Regions from separate parts of the Homo sapiens genome. Here region 1 is linked to region 2. Evidence: promoter capture Hi-C in human tissues and cell types (Jung and others, 2019). All regions are on one chromosome and are shown on one strand. The core of a region is centred on a gene start or on the middle of the fragment in contact, and the rest is flanking DNA. Distances in the headings are between cores, read along the strand shown. Region 1 holds the start of KIFC3 (kinesin family member C3). Region 2 holds the start of MMP15 (matrix metallopeptidase 15).

What was found. The method cuts DNA at HindIII sites, captures the fragments that hold promoters and counts their contacts. A contact is called where the count stands out against the background at its distance.
Region 1: a fragment that was not itself captured here is called in contact with the fragment with the promoter of MMP15 in region 2 in 1 of the 25 tissues and cell types used here (H1 embryonic stem cells).

The regions. Positions count from the first base shown.
Region 1 is chr16:57,797,132-57,803,742 of GRCh38, forward strand. KIFC3 (kinesin family member C3) reads right to left here and starts at 5,360. Exons shown (of 20, transcript NM_001130100.2): 1 at 5,239-5,360; 2 at 941-1,151. The coding sequence starts at 1,112. RefSeq lists enhancers at 4,303-4,979, 5,657-6,333. The HindIII fragment of the contact is 7,020 bases long and covers 1,592-6,611 here.
Region 2 is chr16:58,023,876-58,030,919 of GRCh38, forward strand. It overlaps MMP15 (matrix metallopeptidase 15), which reads left to right and starts at 1,879. Exons shown (of 10, transcript NM_002428.4): 1 at 1,879-2,637. The coding sequence starts at 2,476. RefSeq lists enhancers at 488-1,075, 1,076-1,661, 1,894-2,443, 2,994-3,543 and a silencer at 1,888-2,027. The HindIII fragment of the contact is 8,795 bases long and covers 1-7,022 here.

The DNA of each region.
Region 1 (6,611 bases), core at 3,852-6,351, 220 kb before region 2:
GAGGGGTGAACAGGAGTTTGCTGTGTGCCCTCTCTGGGCCTCAGTTTCCCCTTCTGTGCACCAAGGGGCTTGGACCTGATGGCCCAGAGGGACTCTGCTAGCTCTCACAGGCTGGCAGTCTAGACCCTGTTCCTGTAGGTCACGAGGGACAGGGAGCAGACCCCTGAAGGCACCTTGCCTGGAGAGCCCTCTCTCCCCCACACTACCAGGGCGACCTGCCCACGCCTCGGGAGAGGGTCATGGACAGCTCCGCGGCCCCGCCAATCCAGTCCCGGCCCTGAATCAGAGAAGCCGCTCACTTCTTGACTTTCGCAGCACCGGGGGACATGACCCAGAAAGGCGAGCTGGCACTGACAGCTCCCCGGGGGGTACAGTGGGGGCCAAGACTCTGGGACCTCTGCCCACCTGCTGTCAGGGTCTCTACAGAAGCACCTGAAATGAGCACATGGACCCCAAGCCCCGCCAGGCCACGTTCCCGAGCAGCCTCGGTCCACTCCCAACGCCGTCCAGGGGCCAGCCCAGGCAGGATCAAGTGTCAGCGGCGCTTGGTGCCCAGGCAGCCACTTCACCTACCTTGTTTACCAGCCTGGGCAGAGACCGGAGCTAGCCCACACGCTCTTGGCCAAGGACGGCAGCCCGCAGAGCTCTGACCAGCTTGGCCAGAGGGAATGCAGCTGATTCCCCCTGCTCTGTGCCCGACCCGTGTTAAAGTTTAACCCGGCTTCCAGGTCTCCTCTTTTCCAGACAGGGGCGCAGGGAAGGAGCGCCCGGCGAGACTGACGCTCCGGCTCCACGCCCGCCTGGCTCTGGGCTGTCGGTTACCCTGTAATTACCTGACAGCTCTGACTGGGCTTAGGAACCGGTGAGAAACCTCAGTCTCATCTCTGGTATCTGGAGGAAGGAAGGGAAATAAAGAGGCATTTTAAAAATGCGGACTCACCAGTTCTCAACCTCCCCGGGCCGGTGTGTGGGAAAGGGCGGGCGGCCGGGCTGGCTGGGGCTGGGGCGGGGCGAGCCATCCCCGGCTCGGGCTCCGGGGCCCGGCCCACTCTCCACAGGCCCCGCAGCGAGGGCGTGGCTCCCAGGTTCCACGTCCTGCGAGAGGGGACCATGGCCTGGGGCTCAGCAGCCTCCTCGGGGCACCAGGCAGCCTGCGGAGAGAACAAGGGGAGATAAGCTTGAAGACCGTGGACCAGCACAACTGCACCTCGGGCAGAGCCAGCCATCTGGAAGGGTCTACGCCCCACCGGTCGCTGGTTACCCAGCGCAGCAGCTCCAACTGCACTGTCCCCCAAAGACCCTAGGGCTCGCAGGATGAAATGGGGCCTGCTGCCTTTTGGGGGTATTTGTTTCCGAATACGGAGGCTCCGAAGTGCGAAAGTTGCATATCAGCTGTGCCTGAGACCCCACACCTGAGCCCTTCCCAGCTGAGCCTGGAGCCTGAGGACAAGCCAGGTCCTAGCCCCACACAGAGGAGGCACCGCGAGTCAGCAGCATCTCCGTAAGTCTAATCCTTTTCCTCCAAGACATCTAATTTTCTAATTGCACTTAACCACATGCTTAACCCTTAGGCTTCAGGCTGCTCTGCCTAAGGCCTGTCAGCAGAGCAGTGAATGCTCTGAATATTAACATTTCACTGAGGAGGGACTCAAAAGGGCCCTGACTGTGGCCAATGACAAGTGAAGTCTATATACAGTAAGTTCTCATTCATGTATTCGACTAGCCTGCGCTCTGTGCCTAGCATGTGGCAGGCACCGTATGGGTGTTGAGATACAAAGATTCATTCAGTCTTCATTTAATAATGCCTACTGGGTGCCAGGCATCTGCCAGGGGTCCTTTTGGATCAGAAGAGATGAGGCCTGAAAACTCCCAGTCAGAAGGGAGATAAACACTTCAAAAAAACCCTCACAGTCTGAGCAGGCTACTGGAGGCGGCAGGTGCGAGCCAGGCACCAGGTGGTGTGGGGAATGGAGGGGGGCAGAGAGCATTGGTCAGGGATAGAAAGCTTCAGTCAGGGATAGGTCCCTCATGAACTGAACAAATGAACAGAGCTCAGGTATTCCCTGCAGAAGTCTTTATTGAGCACCTACTGTGTGCAAAGCAACCTTGAGGACATTTAAGGTGATCATGCTACAGTCCCAGACTCAGACAGTAATGTCATTTACAGAAGAAGCGAAGTCAGCTTGGAGAGGCAACATGGGGTTTTAAGATTGAGGTGGGGGTAACTGAAGGACTTCCTAGTGGAGCTTCCTGGGCTGTCGACTACTCTCCCCATCCGTCACTGCAGTGGCCACTTCCTGCCAGGAAGTGAAGATAGCTATTTGAAGGGTGTCCACCTCCCCTGACCCACTATGGGCCCACACACATTCATGTTTGCAGCCCCACTGCACCCAGTCTGCAGCTGCACCCACACTAAGAACTCTGGGATGGCTTGTGGGGTGAACGTTCTGAAATGAACACACACAAAAGCTTGAACTGAAGCCTGGAAGAGAGGTCAGGGCTGGACACAGACTCAGAGCTAAACAGGGCCACCAACGCCACAGGTGAGGAGGCAATCATCAAAGCTTGAGCAAGAGGAGACAGCCATGTGATAACAGGGCTCACTGCGGGGTGGAAAGCTGCAGAAGGAAGCTGAGAGAGGGACAGGAGCTCCAGGCAAGTATAGAGTTTTCAGAAGTGACTGAAGTGTAAGTGGGAAGGAGAGGTTGGTCAGTGCCCAGTGCATCATGCCAAAGAGACGTGGAGGACTGAAAGCCCAGACAGGCAGAAAGCCTGAGCCTGTGGAGGGAGAAGGGCAGATGGCAAACTTCGGAGGGCTCAAAGAGTGGGGCGGGAGCTGGGGGAGGAAGCAGCCACTTCCTTCTCCTTGGGGGTGTTTGGCTAGGATGGGAAGGAGAGGATGTGGTGTCTAGAATAGGGGGAGAGTTGAGCATATTGGGGAGACAGAGAGACAGGAGTGACTAAAGCATTGAGAGGCAAAAATAAATAAATAAATAAATAATAAAGTAAAGGGTCCAGGGGTTAGGGGCCTGAAGATCTGGTGTCTGATGTTTGCAGAGCCCAACCCTGGAAGAATGCCAGGCACCTGGCGAGGAAGCCATGGTCTCTTCCTTCCTTGACTTAGAACAACTAGGAGGCTCCTAGGTTCAGTCTTACTGGGAAGGGGATGGGAATGTGGGCCAAAGGACAGGGCAGAGGCTGATCTAAATACGTGGGCCAGCTCCACTGAGGAAACTGAGATGGACCAGTGTGGCGTGGAAGAAACCAAGGGGAGCAGCCAAATGTCCTCTTCTCCAGGCTGCCTGGCACAGAGCTGGGCACACAACCAACCCTGCAGACCAGCTGTCCAATGGGCAAGGGAAGGAGCAAGGCAGGTCCATCTGCAGTCTCGGCTGCTGGGAAGGTGAGACAGTGCAGGGCATTGGAGGCTGACTCCACAGTGGACAGAGAAGACTTTCAGGGAGATCAGCTCAGCTCAGTCTGAGGGGCAGGGACAGGAGGAGATAGCGTTTCTGCGGTTATCAGGAAGGGAAGTGGAGGAGGCAGCCAGGAAGATATCGGGAAGAAAGAGGAAGGGCGTGTGCTAGATCCCGAAGAGGAAAAAGCAGCTGAATTTAGCAGCCTCAGGGGTGTGAAGGTCAAAAGTATCAAGGAATCTTAAGCCCAGGGTTCTGGGCCAAGAAAGCAGGACTCTCTCTCATTTACATGGGCATCTGAGATGAAACCTGGTGTCCGGGGACTTCTACCAACCTAGGATTCGTGGGGGAGGGCAGTGGGACTGGTTCAGAACCTGGCTCCCCTGTTTACTAGATGTCTGACCTTGGGAGAATTACTTTGCCTCTCCGTACTTCATTATCTCCATCTATAAAATGGGGAGAACACCACCTTATAGGGTTGCTCTAAAGATTAGACAAGGCCAAGTGTTCAGAACAATACTGGCATATACAAAGAGCTCCAAAATTTTATTTTTCAGTTACTTTGCTCCAGTGGTGGGTGAATGCAGAGGGCCTGGCTGGGGAAGAGGGTCTCTGCCTCTCTGGGTTTAGACCAGGACAGCAGAGCTGCAATACTCCCCCTGCCCTAGATCAGGGACATTGCAAAGACTGGGGGGACAGGCTGGACAGCTGCTCAGAGACTGCAGCAAGCAGGGCTTGGTCGCCCTGGGAGAGCAGGCAGAAGGTCAAGGAAGTTGTACAGGGAATGCCACCTCCCTGCACACCATCATCTATCCTGGGCTTTCCAGGGCAACCTAGATTTCAAACCCTCTGCTCCCTGGTGCCCCTGTGAACAGCAGAACTCACCACCCTGTGCCCCTAAAGTCCACTCACTGCAAATGCAGGGCCCCATTCTGAGACTGCATTCCTAGCAAATGACTCTCCCTGGTCAAGGAGACGGCTACTCTAACAAGGGCATGGGGAATACACGTCTGGGAAAGAATGGGTGCTCACCCTGTTCAGGCAGAGGAAAAGCCGGGGAAGGTGAAAGACCAGGGGTGGCCACAACCCGCAATCTTGAGACAGTGTTGGGGTATGGAGGTGGGGGCTGGGTGGCAGTAAATGGTACTCCAGAATTTAATTAAACACAGCTTCCTCTTTAATATCTCCCAGGACCAGGCCCTTCACTGCACCAGCCAGAGTTCTGCTCTAACTAGCAATGCTGGGCTTAAAGGGGTGGTCCTGGGATCGCCCTCCCTGCTGAGACCCTCACAACTGCTGCGGCTGTCAATGGCCCGATTCCTCACTGCCCGGAGGGCACCGGCCAAGGCCCTTCTTCCTAACCTCTGGGCGGGCGCACCCCGCCCCAGGCCCTGCCAGGGAAAAAGCGAACTCCCCAAGGGACGTGGTGGGAGGGACCCAAAGGCAGCCTTCCAGGGAGCCCTGGGGGTGGGGAAGACGCCAGGAAGGGGAGAGGGCGGCGCCGATTGACAAGCCCATCCCGGGTAGGGTCTGCGCTCTTCTCGTTCAATAAAATCCAAACGGGGTCCCGAGGCTGCTCGGATCCCGTGGGACACGCCGCCCCTGTGCCCAGCTCCCAGCAAGGTCCTCGACTCGGGCTGAACGGCGCTGGAGGGGACCTCGCAGGGCTGGGTCTCCCGGGCCTTTCCCTCCCCGCGCCCATAGCGGGTCCGGGCAGAGGGGTCCCGAGGGCAGGGCCGGCCCGGACGCGGCGCCCCAAACGGCGGGCCGGGCAGAGCCCAGCGCCCCGCTCGCACCCAGCCCGCCCGGGCCCCCCACTCACCGGCCTGGCGGAGGCAGGATCCAGGCGTCGCCGCAGCGCCCGGGGCTCGGCCCGGCCCGGCCCGCCGGCAGGAGGCAGCTCCACGCCGCCGCCTCCTCCTCGGCCAGCCCGCTCGCGCCCCTCCCGCACACTTTCCACAGGAAATGATTAACTCGGGCCGCGGCGCGTTCCCATGGCAACCGGCTCCGACCCCGGCGGGGGGCGGCGGCGCGCGCCCGCACTCACGCGCACTGGCGCGCACGCGTCAGCCCGGGCGCGCCCCCGCAGGTCTCCCGCCGGCACTCCCACTCCCACTCCCACTCCTTCGCGGGGCCTCCCACTCGGTCTCTCCCGCCTCCCCGCGTCCCGCACTCGCACTGGCACACGTGCTCATGCGTTCCCTGAAGGCTCTCACAAAACAGGCCTGCACACGGGCTGGCACACACGAGGCAGCCCACACAGCCCCACACCTGGTGAGCCATGCGTACTTTTGCACAGCCTCAAACCCGAGTGCAAAACTTCCACGCGAGTACTCACACATACACTTCTCACGCGGGCTCTCATACCAGTACGTGTCTTCCCATCCCAACACACACACAAGCTCTTACTCACGAGACAATACATGTACATCCCTTACCGTGTCCTTGCACGCGCTGGCGCACATGCACTCACACTGTTTACAGCGCACACGCTCTCACTCGCTCCACCACCTACTCGCTGGCCAGGCCGCCTTCTAGCCACAGCACTTCCTACCTCTGCACCCCCAGCCCCACCCCAGCAAATGAATATCTTCCCAGCAAGGAAGCTGCCTGGAGTCCCTTAAGGTAAAACACACCAATGGTGCAGCAGTTCCCGGCCTTGCTGCAGAAGGCCCTGCTACTGGGGCACCTAGAGCCTCAGAAGAGGCCTGGGGGAGGCCAGGGGCCTGCCAGCCGGGAGAGACAGCTGACCTGGAGGAGCCACTCTGTTCTTTGTCTCCCAAACAGAGGCAGCATTTTATTCCAGAGCCAGCAGCAATATTCTCCCTCACTCTCCACACCCCCGGGTGCGGAAGAGGAGAAAGCAAGTCACTCTGAAGCCAGCCCATGCAGGCTGACGGTTCTGCAGATAATCCCAGGAGGGCGGGTACTCTGTCCCTTCCTGCTTGTCAGGGGATGGCCCAAGAAGATCAAGGAGAGGACTGGAGGGGGTCGGGCAACTCCAGGTGGGTTCTATCTCCTGCTGCCGCCCAGGCGCTGGGCTGCCAGTCAAGAATCTCGACCAGCGACGGAGCCAAGGGCCTGGGCCTCAGATTGTTCTGGACGCCAGAGCAGGACAGTCACAGTCCCCCAGCTGGAAGCAGCCTAGTGCATGCTTTATTTGACAACTGAGATTCCTCAGTGAAGGCCTGATAG
Region 2 (7,044 bases), core at 629-3,128:
TTCAAGATCTGGTCACAGGGGATGTCATTTCCTTAAGGCAGGATTGGACCCCAAGAGAGGAACCTCCAACAGAGAGAAAATCACCAGACTTGACCGACCCAGGCCTCAAAGAACGTTGCTCCACTCATTCCTGGGCTCCTCTCACTAACAGCTAGCCCCTTAAACCCCAACTTTTTTTTTCTTTTTTTCTGAGACAGTGTCTCGCTCTGACAGCCGGGTTGAAGGGCAGCGGCATGATCATAGCTCACTGCATCCTCAACCTCCTGGGTTCAAGTGATCCTCCCAACTCAGCCTCCCAAGTAGCTGGGCCTACAGACGTACACCACCACACCTGGCTAATTTTTGTATTCTTTGTACAGATGGGGTCTTGTCATGTTGCCCAGGCTGGTCTTGAACTCCTGGGCTAAAGCAATCCTCCCACTTCGGTCTCCCAAAGTGCTGGGATTACAGGCTTGAGCCACTTTACCTAGCCCCAAACTTTTTAAAATTGGCTAATCGGGACTAAATATCATGAAAGAGTGCGACGTGGTCGGTTAAACAAGGACAACCCCGTTGTCCGTGTCTGAAGACCACTGCACATTTCCCAAAAGCAAATTTCGAAGTGGAGAATTTAGAAACCAACTTCCCAGATGAAGGATCCCACAGAGAAGTGAGTCCGTGGAAATGATAGAATCGCCCGGTTCCTTTCTCTAAACTCCGACTTCCTTTCCCCAAGGACATCCCAGGAGGGTTCAAACGCGCCCTCTCTAAGGCACTCTGCCAGGTCTCCTGATTTCCAGTTTCCGGGAGGTGAGGCCGGCTAGGGTGCCCCGAGGGCCTGCTCTAGAGAAAACCGCCCTCAGGTGAGGACGGCTTCCATTTCCGGGTCTGAAGATAAGGAACAGCTTATCTTCGGTCTCCGCCCTCCTGCCTGCAACCCTCACCCACTGACCACGCCGGCCAGTCCGCCGCGCCAGGGCTGCCCTTGGCCTGGTCCCCGGGTCTCGGTGGACCTTCGACCCGGGCCTCCCAGCTCTGGCCTCCTGCATCCACCCCGCCCCGACCTCAAGCTGCTTCCGGAATAGAATGAAATCCAGCTCGTTAAGCTTCGCGGGGAGGTGTGTCCACCCGCCCCGCGCCGACTCCGGCCGCACTGTCGCACTTCACTCGCACCAGCCAGTGGCCAAAGTGCTTGGGCACCTATTGCGCCAGGCCAGGAGCCGGAAGTCTTACCTCGCCCTCACCCCAACTCTTTGCCCCACGTTCCCGATAAGAACATGGAGGCTCGGAGAGATTAATTTGCCCACGTGCAAGCGGCAGCTAAGGGGCGGACGCGGAACTTGAACCGTGTCCCTCCTAAACCTGCCCCTTGTCCGCCGCAACGCGCCCTCGACGCGCACAAAACCCTCACTTTGCTACTGAGGAAAGTTATTCAATGGCCAGAGACACCCTGCGGCTTTTGAAAAGAGGTTTCAGGCTGACAAATATCCATATATACATATATATTTATATTTAAGCCTAAAACGACTCTTTGATCCCTCCCCTAAGACCTCCTTCCCGTCCGCCTAGGCCTCGGTATCCCCCACCAGGTATGAGAAGGAGGAGTCTTCATTCTTCCCAGGCGGGGAGACCACGCCTTCCCTGCCTCCTCCCTCCGCGGGGGGTCGCGTTGGAGGTCACCCCCGCCCCCTAGGCGCTGGGTTGGGAGTGACGCGGGGTGGGCTGGAGAGGTTTCCTGCCGTCTGGGAAGCGTAAACGGACCGCCCACCTGTCGGGCCTCGGCCGCCCGCACCTGCTTGTGAGAAGCCTGCGGCTGGGGCACCGCCCCCGGTCCCCGCCCGGGTCCGCGCATTGGGAGCACACTGGCCCTTTAAGAGCGCGGCGGCCGCGGCGCGCGGGGAGGAGGGCTGGGAGCGCCCGGAGCCGCGCTGAACTCGCCGGGGACGTCGGGCGCCCGCTCCTTGGCTGGCTCGCTTGCTCTCTCGCTCGCTCTCTCGGGTCGGCTCCCTGCGCCTCCTCCCGGGACTGCTTGGGGACCCGGGCCCGGTCGGGCGCGGCGGCGAGCAGAATCCCCGTGCAGGAGGCGCGCGCTCCGGGCAGCGCCCGGCCCCGGGCATGGACAGAGGGAGCTGGGCGCGCAGGGAGCGCCGCGGGACCGGGCGGCCGGAGCGCTGAGCCAGACAAAGGCTCCGGAGTTGCGCTTGCTCTCGGGAGCCGGGCCCCAGGCGCTGGGCGCCGAGGCTGCGGAACCTCGCCGGGGGCAGCTCCGGTCGGCCCCCTTTCCCGCCGGCTGGTTCCGAGCTCCCGGACCTGCCCTGCCCGCTTCTCCTCGGGCTTGGGAATTTGCCGAGGCGACCTAGGCGGCTCCGGCGGGGACCGGGAGCCCGAGGTCCGCGGCGCGCCTGCCGGGCCAGGAGCCAGGGAGCGTCGCAAGTTTCCAAGGCGCGTGCGAGGATCCGGCGTGCAGTGTTCCGAGCTGGGCTGGGCGCCGAGAGCATGGGCAGCGACCCGAGCGCGCCCGGACGGCCGGGCTGGACGGGCAGCCTCCTCGGCGACCGGGAGGAGGCGGCGCGGCCGCGACTGCTGCCGCTGCTCCTGGTGCTTCTGGGCTGCCTGGGCCTTGGCGTAGCGGCCGAAGACGCGGAGGTCCATGCCGAGGTAAGACCCCCGCCCTGCCCTTTGGCTGCGGGCTGGGGGCTTGGAGGGAGAGGCGCCACGTCCGCAGGCTGGGACTTGGAGGTGGAGGGAGCGGAGACGCGCCCCCTGTTCTGGGCCGTGGCGGGGAAGCAAGCGGACTTGGCAGTCTGCCCCTCCCCAGCTCGCCCTCTGCAGCGCACCTCTTCGCAAACCCTTGAGGGCGCAGGGCCTCGCTCTCCTCCCCGCTACTCCTACAGCCCTGTTCTGGGCACTGAGCCCCCACCCCGACCCCCTTACATTCAGCCTGTGTCCCGGGAGCCGCTTCCGCCGCCCCCAGCCCTTGCCTCCCCTCCTTCCTTCCCTCCAGGGCAGCCGATTCCTCGAGAGCCCGGCTGGCGCGCAGTGGCGCTCTTTGCGAGTGGGGAGGGGGCTGCTCTCGGGGACAGCCACAGGCGGAGCAAGAGCTGGGCGGCTGGGCAACTGCGCTCCTGCCCAGGTGGCCTCCCGTCTGGGTGATACCGAGCCGCGCACGGCGGGCCAGGATGGAGGCGGGGGGATGGGTGCAAACGGCTGAGGCAGCGGACTCGGGTTGCGGGGGCGCTTTGGCGACTTTCTGCGCTTTTGCGAGGAAGCCTAGGCACGCCCGGGCGGGGTCCTAAGGACGGACCCTGCCTCCCACAGCGCTTCCTCCCAACAGCGCCCCTACGTCGAAGCCCTGGATTCGAGAGGGTGGACCCCGCGCCTCTCTTCGCTAGGAGCCCGCTTGGCGTCCCTCCCGGGGCCCCGCTCTGGATGGGTCCCGCGGGTGACCAGGCGCGACATCCCGGCGTAGAGCCGAGTCCAGCCAGCGCCCCAGCTCCATGGTGTCTCCCGAGCGAGGACACCGAAGGCGCCAGCTTTCTTGCCCCAGAGCAAGAGCAGGGTCCACTCTTCCCCGACTTCTAAGACCTGCGCCCTGCCCCAGATAGGCGGGGAGAGGACTTGGGCGGGGAGTAGGGAGAAAGAACCACCCCGGAGCCGCTTCTGAACGGTGCTCAGGCCTTGGTGCCCTTGGGCTGCCCGGGCTGCGGGCCTGAGCGCCGTTTCTATTTGCAGCTCAGCTGGTGCTCCCTCCCTGGCCCACGGCGGCTTTCCCACCTCTCCGGGCTGCCTGGGAGATTTTTCCGATGGAAGCTTGCCCTTCCCCGCCCTACTTTAATAAAAGCATAGAGGAAGGGCAGGGAATTCCTCCTGGGCTCGAGTTACACCTCCCAGCCATTTCCCCACCTGCTCTGCCCTCCCTCCCTGGCCTGGCCAGGGAGAGCTGAAGGAGGAGCCAGGCCCTGGTGGGAGGCAGGATAGGAGCCCCGCCCCGACCCAGTCTGGCCACCCTCCCCCACCCCATTCACACAGGCAGGAGGAGCTTTAGGGGGCTCCTGTTGGTGAGGATTACCCCTCAGCCTGTGACCCAAGTACTGGGCGGAGAGTGCCATTTGGGCCCACCTGCCACTCTGGGCTGGAGTGCCAAAGAATTTCAAGTCACAGTCCCACCATTGAGTTTCTAATCTACTTAGGGATGGCGTCAATACATAGGAAGCAGTGATGGAATTCAATGGCCGTGCATTGCTAATGGCATCCTAGCTGGCCAGGAGCTCAGGGGTGCAGGGACCTGTAGTTGGAGGGGCTTCACTCTCTCTCTCTTCTGCTTTTCCAGTTCCATCTCACCCCTACCCCAACTCCCCAGCTCAGGGAGTGCCCACAGCTCGATGCCGCCAGGGAAGAAGCCATGGTTGCGTTATCACAAACCGTGCTCCTGATCTGGAGGTTGTGACTGTCCTGGAGCCCTACTCCTGGGGAAACACTTGGGTTGGACCTGGGCAGTGACTGGAAGAGACCCCGGAAGGTTTAAGGAGCCTTGAATGTTGGCAGCCATGCAGATAGAGGGCTAGAGACAGGTGGAGTGTCCCAGCTCCTACAGTTGGCTTTGGGTACAGGCTGCTTCTAGGGTCCCATCAGGTCTGGCCACATGTGGGCCCAAAGAGTCAAATGGCCTCAGCAGCCAGCCCATCTGCCGGGGGCTGTGGCCTCAGACTCCTGGGCCTGGCCTACACCCTGTGTTGAGCCTCCCTTCCTTGGAGAAGGCTGGCTCTCTCATCCTCACCCCAGCATCCACACAGCCTCAGGCCTCCAGTAGGGTCACAGCTGGGACCTTCTCGGAGCAGCTTGGCAGCTGAGCCAAGGCCAGCCTCTCTCCACTTCCTCTCTCCCCTCCCAGGGTGGAAGCCACAGGACTTTCACGAGGCTGAGACATCAAGGAGCCTGGCATGTGCTAGGAACTGACAAACACCTGCAACCTGCCAGGCCCTAGCCCACCACTGAGCTGCCACGTCCTATCCCACATTCTCCCTTGGATGTCCAATCCCAGTCTGTAGCCATTCCGGGCCAGATCCCCACCTGGCTGAGGTGCTCACTGTTGTTCCTGCCCTGCAGGGCTGAGAGTCTCCAGGCTCACCGGGGGAGCTCTTATCTCACCTGCCTCCCCCTACCCCCTCCTCCCAGGCACAATTCAGGTCCTCAGCCTGCTCTGTGGAGGTGACTCAGGCTGCCAGAGTTCACAGGGGTGGTGCCACCACCACCAAAACCGATCCACCCGCCTTTCCTCAACAGGCCCACGAGTATCTTCCTAGCCCCTACCCAGCCACTGAGTAGATGAGGCAGCGGGGGTGGGGGCGTTGGGAGGGGGTCAGCGTGAATTACCATTTTGACCTTCAGGTGAGCCACAGTCTTGGGCTTCCTTAGCTTCAGTCTCTACTAGCACTTCCATGCTGGCTCCGGGGGGGCCCCACTGGTCCCCTCTTTCTTTTAAACAGAGCAAAACTACAGATGCCATCTGTGCCCACCAGCTAAGAAAAGGGAGTTAATAGCGGGGCCTTGTCATTGGGAATCTGCAGAAGCTGAATCTTCTCCCCCTCCCCTCTTGTCTCTGCTTTTTACTCTGTTTTCTTGCTAGTAGTAAATCACTCCTCTCCATGCTCTGTCAAGACCCAGAGAGAACTGGTCTGATTGGCACAGCCAGGGACCTAGATCTCATTGGGCCATGCCCTTCACACCCAGCCCTTGCCATGTTTCCGAGTTGGGGCTGCCCTTGGGTCCAGCCAGTCATCTGTCTCCTTGCAGAGAACAGCCCAGTGTAAGCTCCTTGTCTGAGCAGTGTATTGGCCTGACCTTCCCATTGTGACCTCTGAACATAAATACCTCCTTTGCCCCACCCCAAGGGATGTTGATACTTAAAAGATATCCATGAATGTGGAGAGGAGCAACATGGAAATACACGCTATCCCCACCCCCAAAAGAAGACTTTCCCCAAAAGCCCAGTGCCCACTGCTATCTCTTATGCCCATTCAGGATGGCTACACTGCAGGCGTGGAAAAGCCCCTCCCTGCCGAGCGGTTTGTTCTGCTGTCCCTCTGTGGCCCTTTTGTTGTTTGGTCCAGATGATCCCTTCCATCATCACCTCTGCCCTGCTGGGAGTTTGACCTCTGCCTCAGGCTAGCTGTGGTGGTCACTATGAGAACCACTACTTTCCAGATCAAATCAGAATGGGTATCCTCCATATCATCCCAAGGCTTAGGTGGCTCCCTGTCTTGGACACTCCAGCAGGAGCAATGCTTTGGTCCTGGAGATGTGTTTTCTGAGTCAGCAAAGACAGAGAGGGGTTGTGGACTCTGCCCTTATCTTTCTCCTTTACAAAGCGGGTCCTGGGAGAAGCCCACCATTGAGTGTGAGGACCGGGACCCTGAAGGCGGCTGAATGCTCCAGACCTGAGACACAGTAGGCACCATCTGGCTGGACAGCTCTGAGTGACGGCTCAGATAGGGCTGCTCCACAGTCAGACACAGGTTCCAGGGATTCCTGAGACCAGAGGCCATGGAGCTGGGCCTGGATCCCAGAGGCAAAGAGGGATGCCTCTTCCCTAATCCCATGGCCCTCGTGGGAATGGAAGAAAAAGTGGGAAGAGACCCAACTCAGCCTCCAGTATCAGGACAGGTGGATAAGCCCCTGGTACCAGCCATTAGCCAGCCCCTGGAGATGCCCCCCATCCTGCTGCCATCGGCCGATGGTGATGCAGGCCAAGGTCTAGATCACCTCTCCAGGGCACTGGCACTGGCACTGCCTTGTCCTTCCCCTAGGAGTGACTGTCACCCTGTAGGGGTGAGAGTCCAGCTCCACGTTCAGCGTTTCTGAGCATGGCACTTGATACATAGTGCACAACACGGTGGCCTACACCCTGTGTCCAGAGCCTCCCTGGCAAAATAGTGCAAAACAGTGACAGAAGCGAATGGCATTTACTGTTGGGCAAGTCACTGAATCTGTATGAACTTCAAGATCTCTATAAAAAGGGAATAGCAATGGTCTATCTGCTTGATGGAGTTACGGGGAGATTCATTG